Regions from separate parts of the Homo sapiens genome. Here region 2 is linked to region 1. The links are contacts of gene promoters, found by promoter capture Hi-C in human tissues and cell types (Jung and others, 2019). All regions are on one chromosome and are shown on one strand. Each heading gives the region's core, a stretch centred on a gene start or on the middle of the fragment in contact. The rest is flanking DNA. Distances are from core to core; before and after follow the strand shown. Region 1 holds the start of MYH6 (myosin heavy chain 6). Region 2 holds the start of SLC22A17 (solute carrier family 22 member 17).

What was found. Contacts are between HindIII fragments. The study calls those that stand out against the background at their distance.
Region 2: a contact is called between the fragment with the promoter of SLC22A17 here and the fragment with the promoter of MYH6 in region 1, in 1 of the 25 tissues and cell types used here (thymus).

Annotation. Positions count from the first base shown.
Region 1 is chr14:23,406,667-23,410,885 of GRCh38, forward strand. MYH6 (myosin heavy chain 6) reads right to left here and starts at 1,607. Exons shown (of 39, transcript NM_002471.4): 1 at 1,587-1,607; 2 at 910-942; 3 at 357-570. The coding sequence starts at 557. RefSeq lists enhancers at 1-2,777, 460-960. The HindIII fragment of the contact is 16,944 bases long and covers 1-3,355 here.
Region 2 is chr14:23,350,840-23,354,995 of GRCh38, forward strand. SLC22A17 (solute carrier family 22 member 17) reads right to left here and starts at 2,048. Exons shown (of 10, transcript NM_016609.7): 1 at 1,807-2,048; 2 at 1,109-1,612; 3 at 913-1,016. The coding sequence starts at 1,902. The HindIII fragment of the contact is 16,780 bases long and covers 1-4,156 here.

The sequences.
Region 1 (4,219 bases), core at 357-2,856:
TCATGGAGGAAACTGAGGCACAGGGAAGAGGGATACAAGTGCAAGAAGGGGGCATCATTTAATGCTGTGTCTGTGCCCTCTTTATCTACAAGACCCCTCTTAGGCGAACACTGAGGTTCTTCTTCCTCAGCATCCTCTCTGGCAGGGGGAACATGGCCCTGGGTGGCACCTGTTGCACCAGCTCAGGTCAATTTGAGAGGGATCAGATTCTGGGCTCCTCAAAGGAGCATGTCCTGGCATCCCCACTGGCCTTGGCTTTTCTCCAGCCCTCTCAGCTCCCCCTGCAAGTGGCTCCACCTCTGCATCTTCTTTCCCAGACCTCCTTCCCTTCTGCCCCGGCGCCATGCCCTACTCACCTTCCCATTCTCGGTTTCAGCAATGACCTTGCCTCCCTCCCGGGACAAAATCTTGGCTTTGACAAACTCTTCCTTGTCATCGGGCACGAAGCACTCAGTGCGAATGTCAAAGGGCCGGGTCTGGGCCTCTAGACGCTCCTTCTCTGACTTGCGGAGGTACTGGGCCGCTGCCCCAAAGTCAGCCATCTGGGCATCGGTCATCTTGGTGCTTCCCCTGGGTCAGAGACAGGAGGGCTATGTTACTCCTGAGGGAGCCCAGGCTCCAGCGAGTGGCTTTGTCCTCTGCAGCCCCCCTCCCTACCCCCGCTCCTCTCCTCCACCCTGGGAGAGGCACCTGCTGTTGCACCCTCCCCTACTCAGGGCTCTGCTTCTCCTGCCCTCTGAGGTGATGCTGAAGGACAATCTCTGTAAGGGGTTTCCCTGGGGTGGCATTGGCTGGAGTATGCTAAGGGTTGGCGCTGAGTGCTTGGGACAGCAGACCCCTGGTCCAGCAATCCGGCTCCCAGGAGAAGCATGCCCCAGTCTCTGCAGAGAAAATGGGGGCAGTTCTCACCTGGTTATCCCTTCACGGAGAATCCTGAAGAATCTGGACCGTGGGTGGAGCAAGGAACAACAGAGGTAGAGCCGGGCAGAGAGAAGAACAGATGAGGAGAGTGAAGAACAACAGAGGCAGGCCACCCGGGGATGGAGGCAGCCCCAGAGCGCAGACAGGCAGGACAGACCAGGGAGTCAGAAAGGGAAAGACGCAGAGGCAGAAAAGAAAGGGCACCGAGTCAATATGAGTGCGAGGGACGGGGTGTGGAAACAGGGTTAGAAGCAGAGAGGCAGGGAGGTGAGAACACGTGCCAAGAAGGAAGGACAAGGGAGAGAGACAAAGAAGCATGATTGTGACAAGTGTCGATGAAGACCAAGAGGCAAGATAAAACCAGGATCAAGGGAAGGAAGCCATCCAAAGGAGGAAGGAAGATGGAAAGATGGAGACAACATGTAGGAGACTCAGAATGATGCAGAGAAAGAAATGGAGAGTCAGAGAAGGAGAAAAGAGGTTTCTGGGTTTCCTGTGGAACCTCCTTGTGTCAGGGGGAACTTCCCTGGGCCTGGAGATAGGCAGTTTTAATAGAGCCCTTAGGCCTCCAACTGACCTGCACCCCACTCCTGGTGAAGGAGGTCCCTCACGGTGGGGGCTCTGTGGACGGGCTGCAGGGCATCCCACCCCAAACCTCCTCTTACCTGGGCCGCAGGAGTCTCTCTATCTGTCCTCAAAGCTCCAGTTCCTTTATATCCCGTTTCCCCCACCCTCTGTCTAAATTTGGAGTCCTTCCGGAGGGACCCTCCCTCCCACCTCTCTCCCCTCCTGGCTCCTCCTCCTTTGATCCTTTGGCTCTGGAGGTGACAGGAGGACAGCAGGGCCCCCTGATTTGCCCAAGAAAGGTCTGCTGCCCCAGCCTCTCTGGCTCCACGGCCTTTTTTTAGTCCTTGGGCACATTCCTCCCCTTCAAAGGGCTGATGAGCAGATAGTGGGAAGACAGGACCTTCTCACACCGCCTCTCCCACCCTGCCATGGCCCTTACCTCAGTTATTTTTAACCCGAAGGGTGAACTGAAAACATGGGTGAGGGTCACCTTCTCCTGCAGGCCAAATGCCTGTCCTCCGCCTCCCAACCATGGGCTTTCCTCCCCTGTTCCCCAGCCTCTCCTTCCCATTCTGACCTCCCTCACACAGTCCCAGGCTGGGAGCATCTTCCTGCTGTTAGTACTGGAGCCCCCAGTGCTAGGGACTAAAAGCTGCAGTATGGTGCCCAGGGAAGGGATCTGTTGTCCATCTCCATGGCTCAGTTTTCTTTTGTCAGGAAATTCTGTCCTGGCCTCAGTCTGCATAAGTGCCATGCCTGGTCTCCTTCTGTTCCCCAAGTCTTCAGACAAGTGTTCTCCCAAGGTCTTGAGGCCACCCTGGTTTGGGGACACGTCTGGAGTCCCCACCCCTTCCCTAATGCTCCTGATAGAGTGGCCAACATCCAACCTGCTCACGCAATGGCAGTGATTCTCCCTGCCGCCTCAGGCAGATTTTCACACAGAACCCCAGTTCAGCACTCTCACATACAGACTTGACCGTGTCTGTGCCCATCTTCAGCCACACATGCAGATTTTTCACACTTACCCACTCAAGCTTGCAGATTTCTTTTCTACTTTCTTTTGTGTACATGGATGCACACATTTGCACATCCGCATTTGCACACATAGGCTTTTGCCCTCCCCTGCTACCCTCTGCTCCTGGGGTGGGGTGGGCAGAAGAAGATGGTGCTAATCCTAGGGCCTGAGAGAGGAGGGGGGTGGGTGAGGGGCTGTCCCCTTCTGCCTCACCGGGCTGCCAGAGGGTGCAGGTGCCTGGCAGGCCTGGGGATTTACACCATCTGGTCCCCAGGCACTGCATTCCATCGGGGTGGGGCTCTGCCACCTGCCCCCTCCCCAGGCAGAATTTTGTTGCCCCTTTCCAAGCCCTCCAGGGCTTATACTCACATTCCCTTCTTTGTGGGTGTCCTCAAGCACCCTAGGCCCTCAAGGCCCCGCTCCCCATCCTCCAATGCTGCCATCTCTCAGAGGCTGTAGGTGTCAGGTCTTCAGCAGGCTGTTCCTGTTATGACTAAGTGGACATTGTGTTCAGGAAACAAAGCCAGACTCCCCTGCTCTGGCCTTCCCCCCACCCTCACACCCAGGAACACCCTCCCAGCCCCCCTCCCACCAGTTTACTGTCACCTCTCAATATAGCTCCAGGGTGTGGAGGTGGGTAGGACGACAGGGGTCAGCTTCTCTGGGTAGGAGCACTTTCCATTAAGATGTGGCCTCTCCCCTAGCTCCCTAGGACGCTGCCACCCCATTCCTGGGCTCAGGAACACACCTCTCTTTCCAGAGCATTTGGACCTTTTCTCAATGTCCTTGGAGGGACCTTAGTTGACCCCACATCCCCATCTTCTGCAGGTGCTTATGCCAAATCATTACCCCCAGGGGATGCAGGCCACCTGTCCCCAGCTCTAGGTTACTCGAGGCCCCAGAATTCGAGCCGGGGGGTTAGCCCATGGCCAGTGCGTCACTGCTTGGTTCCCATAGCTCTGGGGACATGATAAGGAGCTGAGAACGCCAGGTCAGTCTGGGTCGGGGTCAGGTGACAAAGACCAGGCTTTGTCCTCAGGGAACCCTGTGCTCTGAGCAGGCCTCACTTGGTATAGGTGGTGGTGGCAGGGCAGCGGGGAGTGGAGGTGGTGGGGGGTAGTCCCCCGCTCCTGTGGAAGGAGGAGGAAGGAAGGTGTTCACTCAGCCCCAGGCCCTGCCCGTCTGCTCCGCTGTACCGTCCTCTCCCTTCCCCAGGCTCCTTCTCTCCCTGCTCTCACATATTGCTCTCCGTCCTCCCTAAGCTGCCTTGCACACAGCTCCTCATTCTGCTGGGAGTCCTGGAATATAAGGACAGGGATGGAGGCTTCGGCCACAGGTGAGGGTGCCAAGGAGGCAAGGCTGGCCTCCCTGGCACAGGTTGCCTGTCTTCTGCCTGGCTCCCCGTTGCATCTGTCTCTGTCTCACCTTCATTCCCTCTGCCTGCTTCTCCATCTCAGAGTGGGGCCTGCCTCCGATTCTCCCTGGCCCGTGTCTCCACCCGGCTCAGGGTCTAACATGAGGCTCTGCCCTCTCCGAGCTGGCCTCTTCTCTCGCCCTGGGCCTCCACATCTTGCTCCAGGCTCTTCCTCCTCTCCAATCTCCTTGCGCCTTCCTGACTCTCCTTGCATTTGCAAGTGACCCAGGATTCTTTCCTTCACTCGGGATCACCACCCGCAGCTCTTCAAGCTTCTCCCTCCAAGGCTCCCTCTCTTTTCC
Region 2 (4,156 bases), core at 798-3,297, 55 kb before region 1:
ACAGAGGTGTGTGACTATTGGGCAGTGAGGATGGGTATTGATTTTAAGGAACTGGACTATTGAATGTTGGGATGGCTTTGATCCACAGAAGTTGAGTTATTAATCCACTTGGATGGAACTGTGGATCAATGGGGCTGAGTCTAATCGGAAGTTTAGTGCAGTGAGAGCATCTGGTCAGTGGTGAAGGTGACCAGAATCAGAGATGAGATTTTTGATCTGTGGGAAGAGTTATTGGTTGCTGGGATTGGGTTGTTGATCTCTAGAGGTGAAGCTACCGACTCATGGAAACGGGGATTTCGGTGAGAGGATCTCAAAGCCCTGAGGATCCATGAGGGTATGACTGCTAATCTATGGGCTATTCCCCTACAGAGCGTTGGGTCATTTGGTGGCAGGCATGGGACTGTGGGTTACTGGGTCTGAGGATATTGTCTTTGGAGATAGTTAGTTGACTTGTAGGGGAGGGGTCGCTGGTCAGAAATGGGGTAATTTGTTTGTGAAGTTGAACTATTGATCAGTGGGAATGGAGCTGTTGGTGTTTAGGAATTAACATATTGATCTTCAGGAATGAGGTCACTGAGATGGAGCGAACAGTCCATGTGGGCTGTTAGTGGGGATGAGACTATTCTCTTTGGAGATGAGGCCATTGATTCACGGATAGGGGGCCACTAATTAGTGGGAATGGGACTAATAGTCCATAGAGGTCGAGTCATTCCCTTGCGCGGAAGAGGTAGGGAAGGGGTATTTCTTGATGGAGAGTGAAGTTGAGACATGGATAGACCATTGAATAGAAGTCCAGAGAAGACTGCAGAGTCCAGCGAATCGTCTTCGACCTCCTGTAAACGCCCGCTGCTTGGGTTAGCTTCCCTAGCACCCCCTCCTTTCTACCAGCCCTGCCCCCACGACAGCCCTCACCTGTCTGCGGGGTAACCCAGGAACAGGTAGCCGGAGGCAAAGCCCAAGATGAAGAGGATCTGCTCCAGGATCACCTGCCAGCCCAGGTCACACACCAGATCCCACTGGGGATGTGAGAAGGGTGCAGCGGGCGTGAGGCCCCGCCCTCGCCGCTCTCTGCCCGCCCCCAGACCCGCGGCCCGCCTGGCCGCCTCACCTGGCCGATGGCGTTGGTGGTGAGCACAGGAAGGCCATTATAGTCCCAATCCTTGAGGCAATGGTTGAAGTCCGGCGGGGCGAAGCCGCTGCACGAGGGGTCGGTACTGGTGGCGACACGGCTGGCGGCGCTGGCTGCTAGGGCAGCGCTGGCGACGCTGACGCCGCTGGCATTGGGAGGCTGCTCCCAGCCAGAGGCATTAGGGGGGAAGGCCCCGTAGTGGCAATGCAGCGGGGGCGCCAGCGTGAAGATGGGGTCCGAGGCCATGCCCAGAGCCACGAAGAGCACCGGCAGGCAGCAGAGGCCGAGCTGCAGCTGCTGGCCGCCGCCCAGCGCCCCCACCTGGGCGAGCAGCGCCTCAAAGCTGAGGGGGCCTGGGGGCACGGCCAGCGACAGGCTGCTGCCCAGTCCGTCGCCGCCCGCGTCTCCCTCCCCCTCCCGCTCGCGCTCCCGCTCACCCTGCAGCTGCTCCGTGGGCACCGCATCTCCGAGGGTCCCGACCTGCTGTTGGGGGGCAGGGGGTGGCAGGAGAAGGGTGAAGCGGAGGAAACCGCAGAGCAAGGGCAGGGGGCAGGTGGGAGGGAGGGCTAGGAAGGCAGTCAGGGGCGAGGGATGCGCAGGAGGAAAATGCCAGACGCTCCGCGGGGGCGGGGGTGCTGGGAGAGGATGGCGTCGCCACCTGGGGCTCGGGCACTTACTCCGTTGGAGGTGGGGGTGATCTCTACAGTGTTGTCGATTTTGCCGCCGCCCCCGCCATTGGGCTCGGGGGTCCCGGTGGCCACCCGGGGAGCCAGCTTGCCGACCGCAGGGGCCCTGCCGGCCCGCGCCGAAAGGATGCGCTGTCCTCTGGCTCAGTTGCGCGCCGGCTGCCCGGACACAGACAGCTCGAAGAGATCCCGCTCTGCAGCTCTGCAGCCGCGGGCGCCTCCTTGGTCTCTGCGATCTCTGCGCTGCTTTCCCCTCCCCTTCCTCTAGACTCTCCTCCCCTTCCCACGTCAGCAGAACCTTCGGTCCAGACTCTTCGTCAGAGAGAGGAAGGGGGGCCAGGGCCCAGGGGAGGGAGGGAAGGGGGGCTCTGTCGTCTCTTTCCTGGGTCTGCGGGCCATTGCGGTAAAAAAGAAAAAAAGCTGAAGGATAGTAGCTAGTCCAGGCAGATGCCAGAGATTCTTCCTCTGCTTCCAATCATTTGCCATCATTCATTCATTCATTCATTCACCCATTCACTAATCAGTAAAATTTAAGTGTCCACTACGTTCCAGGACTTGCACTAGACTTTAAGGATAACAGGGTGGACAAGTTCCACTTTGGAGACCTTTACTCCAGGGAGACAGACATGTAAACTGGCTATTACAGTACAACTTATGCATATGGAAGACTGTCTTGGCCCTGTATCAGCCCTAGCTTCAGTCCTCTACAAGGAGACCACTTTCTTGGGTTTCATCACTCCCATCCTGTTTGAATCTCCATTTCTCAACAGCATTTGGCACTGTTGACCCCTCTTCCTCTAAACACTCTCTTCCTTTGCTGCTGAGTCTCTCTTGCTCCCCTTTTCTCCATTGCAGAAATCGTCTTCCAGCTCATGGCATTGGTGCTGAGCATGGGCAGGCCATTATCCTCCCGGTTCTTGAGGCAATGATTGAAGTCCAGCGGGGTGACGCAACTGCAGGAGGGGTCTGTATTGGTAGTGATGAGGCTGTGGTGCTGGCTTCTAGGGCCATTCCCGTCTGTATCATTTAGACACCATGGTTCAGTGTCTGGAATCCTCACAGACTTAGTCCTAGGCCCTCCTCTCATCTCACACTGTCTCCACTTTGGGATCTTACCTATGCCCACAGCTTCAATCACCACCCATACAAACAATACAAACCTGACGCCCAGACTGACATCTCCAGCTTCCACCTCTGTTCTGAGCTCCAGACCTATGAAGCCACCTCTTATTTGACCTTCACCTTGGATGACTCACAGGGACCTCAAACTCAATATGTTCAAGACGAAATTTTTGCTTTTCCCCCATAACTTGGTTGGCTTCCACTGCTTTTTTCTGCAGCGAATGGCACCCTCAACATCGCATTGTGGCCAAATGCTCAGGCAACAGCCTTTAGAGCTTTCTCTTCCTTATCCATGTTGAATTCTTTACAAAATTCTGCCCATTTTACTTCCTATATATTCTCAGACATCCCACATCTCTCCATCTCTACCATTATTAGTCAAGCTACCTGTTGCAAAGACCACTTTAGCTCCCTAATTCCTAACTGGTGTTCAGCGTCCGCTTTGTTTATACCTCCTTATCACCCATATGTCATTTATAGTCAGATAGAATGATCTTTTCAAAATACAGATCTGATCATGTATCTTTCCTGCTAACCAGCCTTCAGTGGTGTCTCCTCACTGTCAAAGTGAATATTAAAAATCTAGATACCTCATACATGGTTCTACATGCCTGGTCACATGCTGTCTGTAGTTCCATCTCACTTCTTTCCCCAAACTCTCTGCACTCCAGCCACAGACCTTCTTCTAGTTTTCCCAGCGCCACGAGGCCTTTGAACAAGCTGGTTCCTGCACCTAAAAAGCTTCTTAGTCACATTTTTCTCATCCTTCAGCTCTCAGCCTAAACATCTTTGCTACACAGGAGTCTTCCCTAACCTCTAGAATTGCTACTCAAAGTGTGGTTCATGGACCAGCAGCATTCCTGGGAGCTTGTTAGAAATGCAGAATCCAAGCCTCACCCAGACCCTTGAATCATAATCTGTATTTTATCCAGATCTCCAGGCATAGGTATTATACATTAAAGGTAGAGACACACATCTCTAAGAGATTTGTTACCTGATAGGTACTTTATTCTCTAATCCTAGGTAAGGGCTAGAAAGCAGTGTTCTATCATTGTCAGCCGGGAAATCTTTCCCCCTTCTCTCCACTGAACCACACTTTTAACTTGTCTCTGTTCAGAAATTTTCCACGTATGGGAAACTCTTTTCTTCAGACAGGGTCTCACTGTCTTACCCAGGATGGAGTGCAGTGGCTTGATCACAGCTCACTGCAGTCTCCACC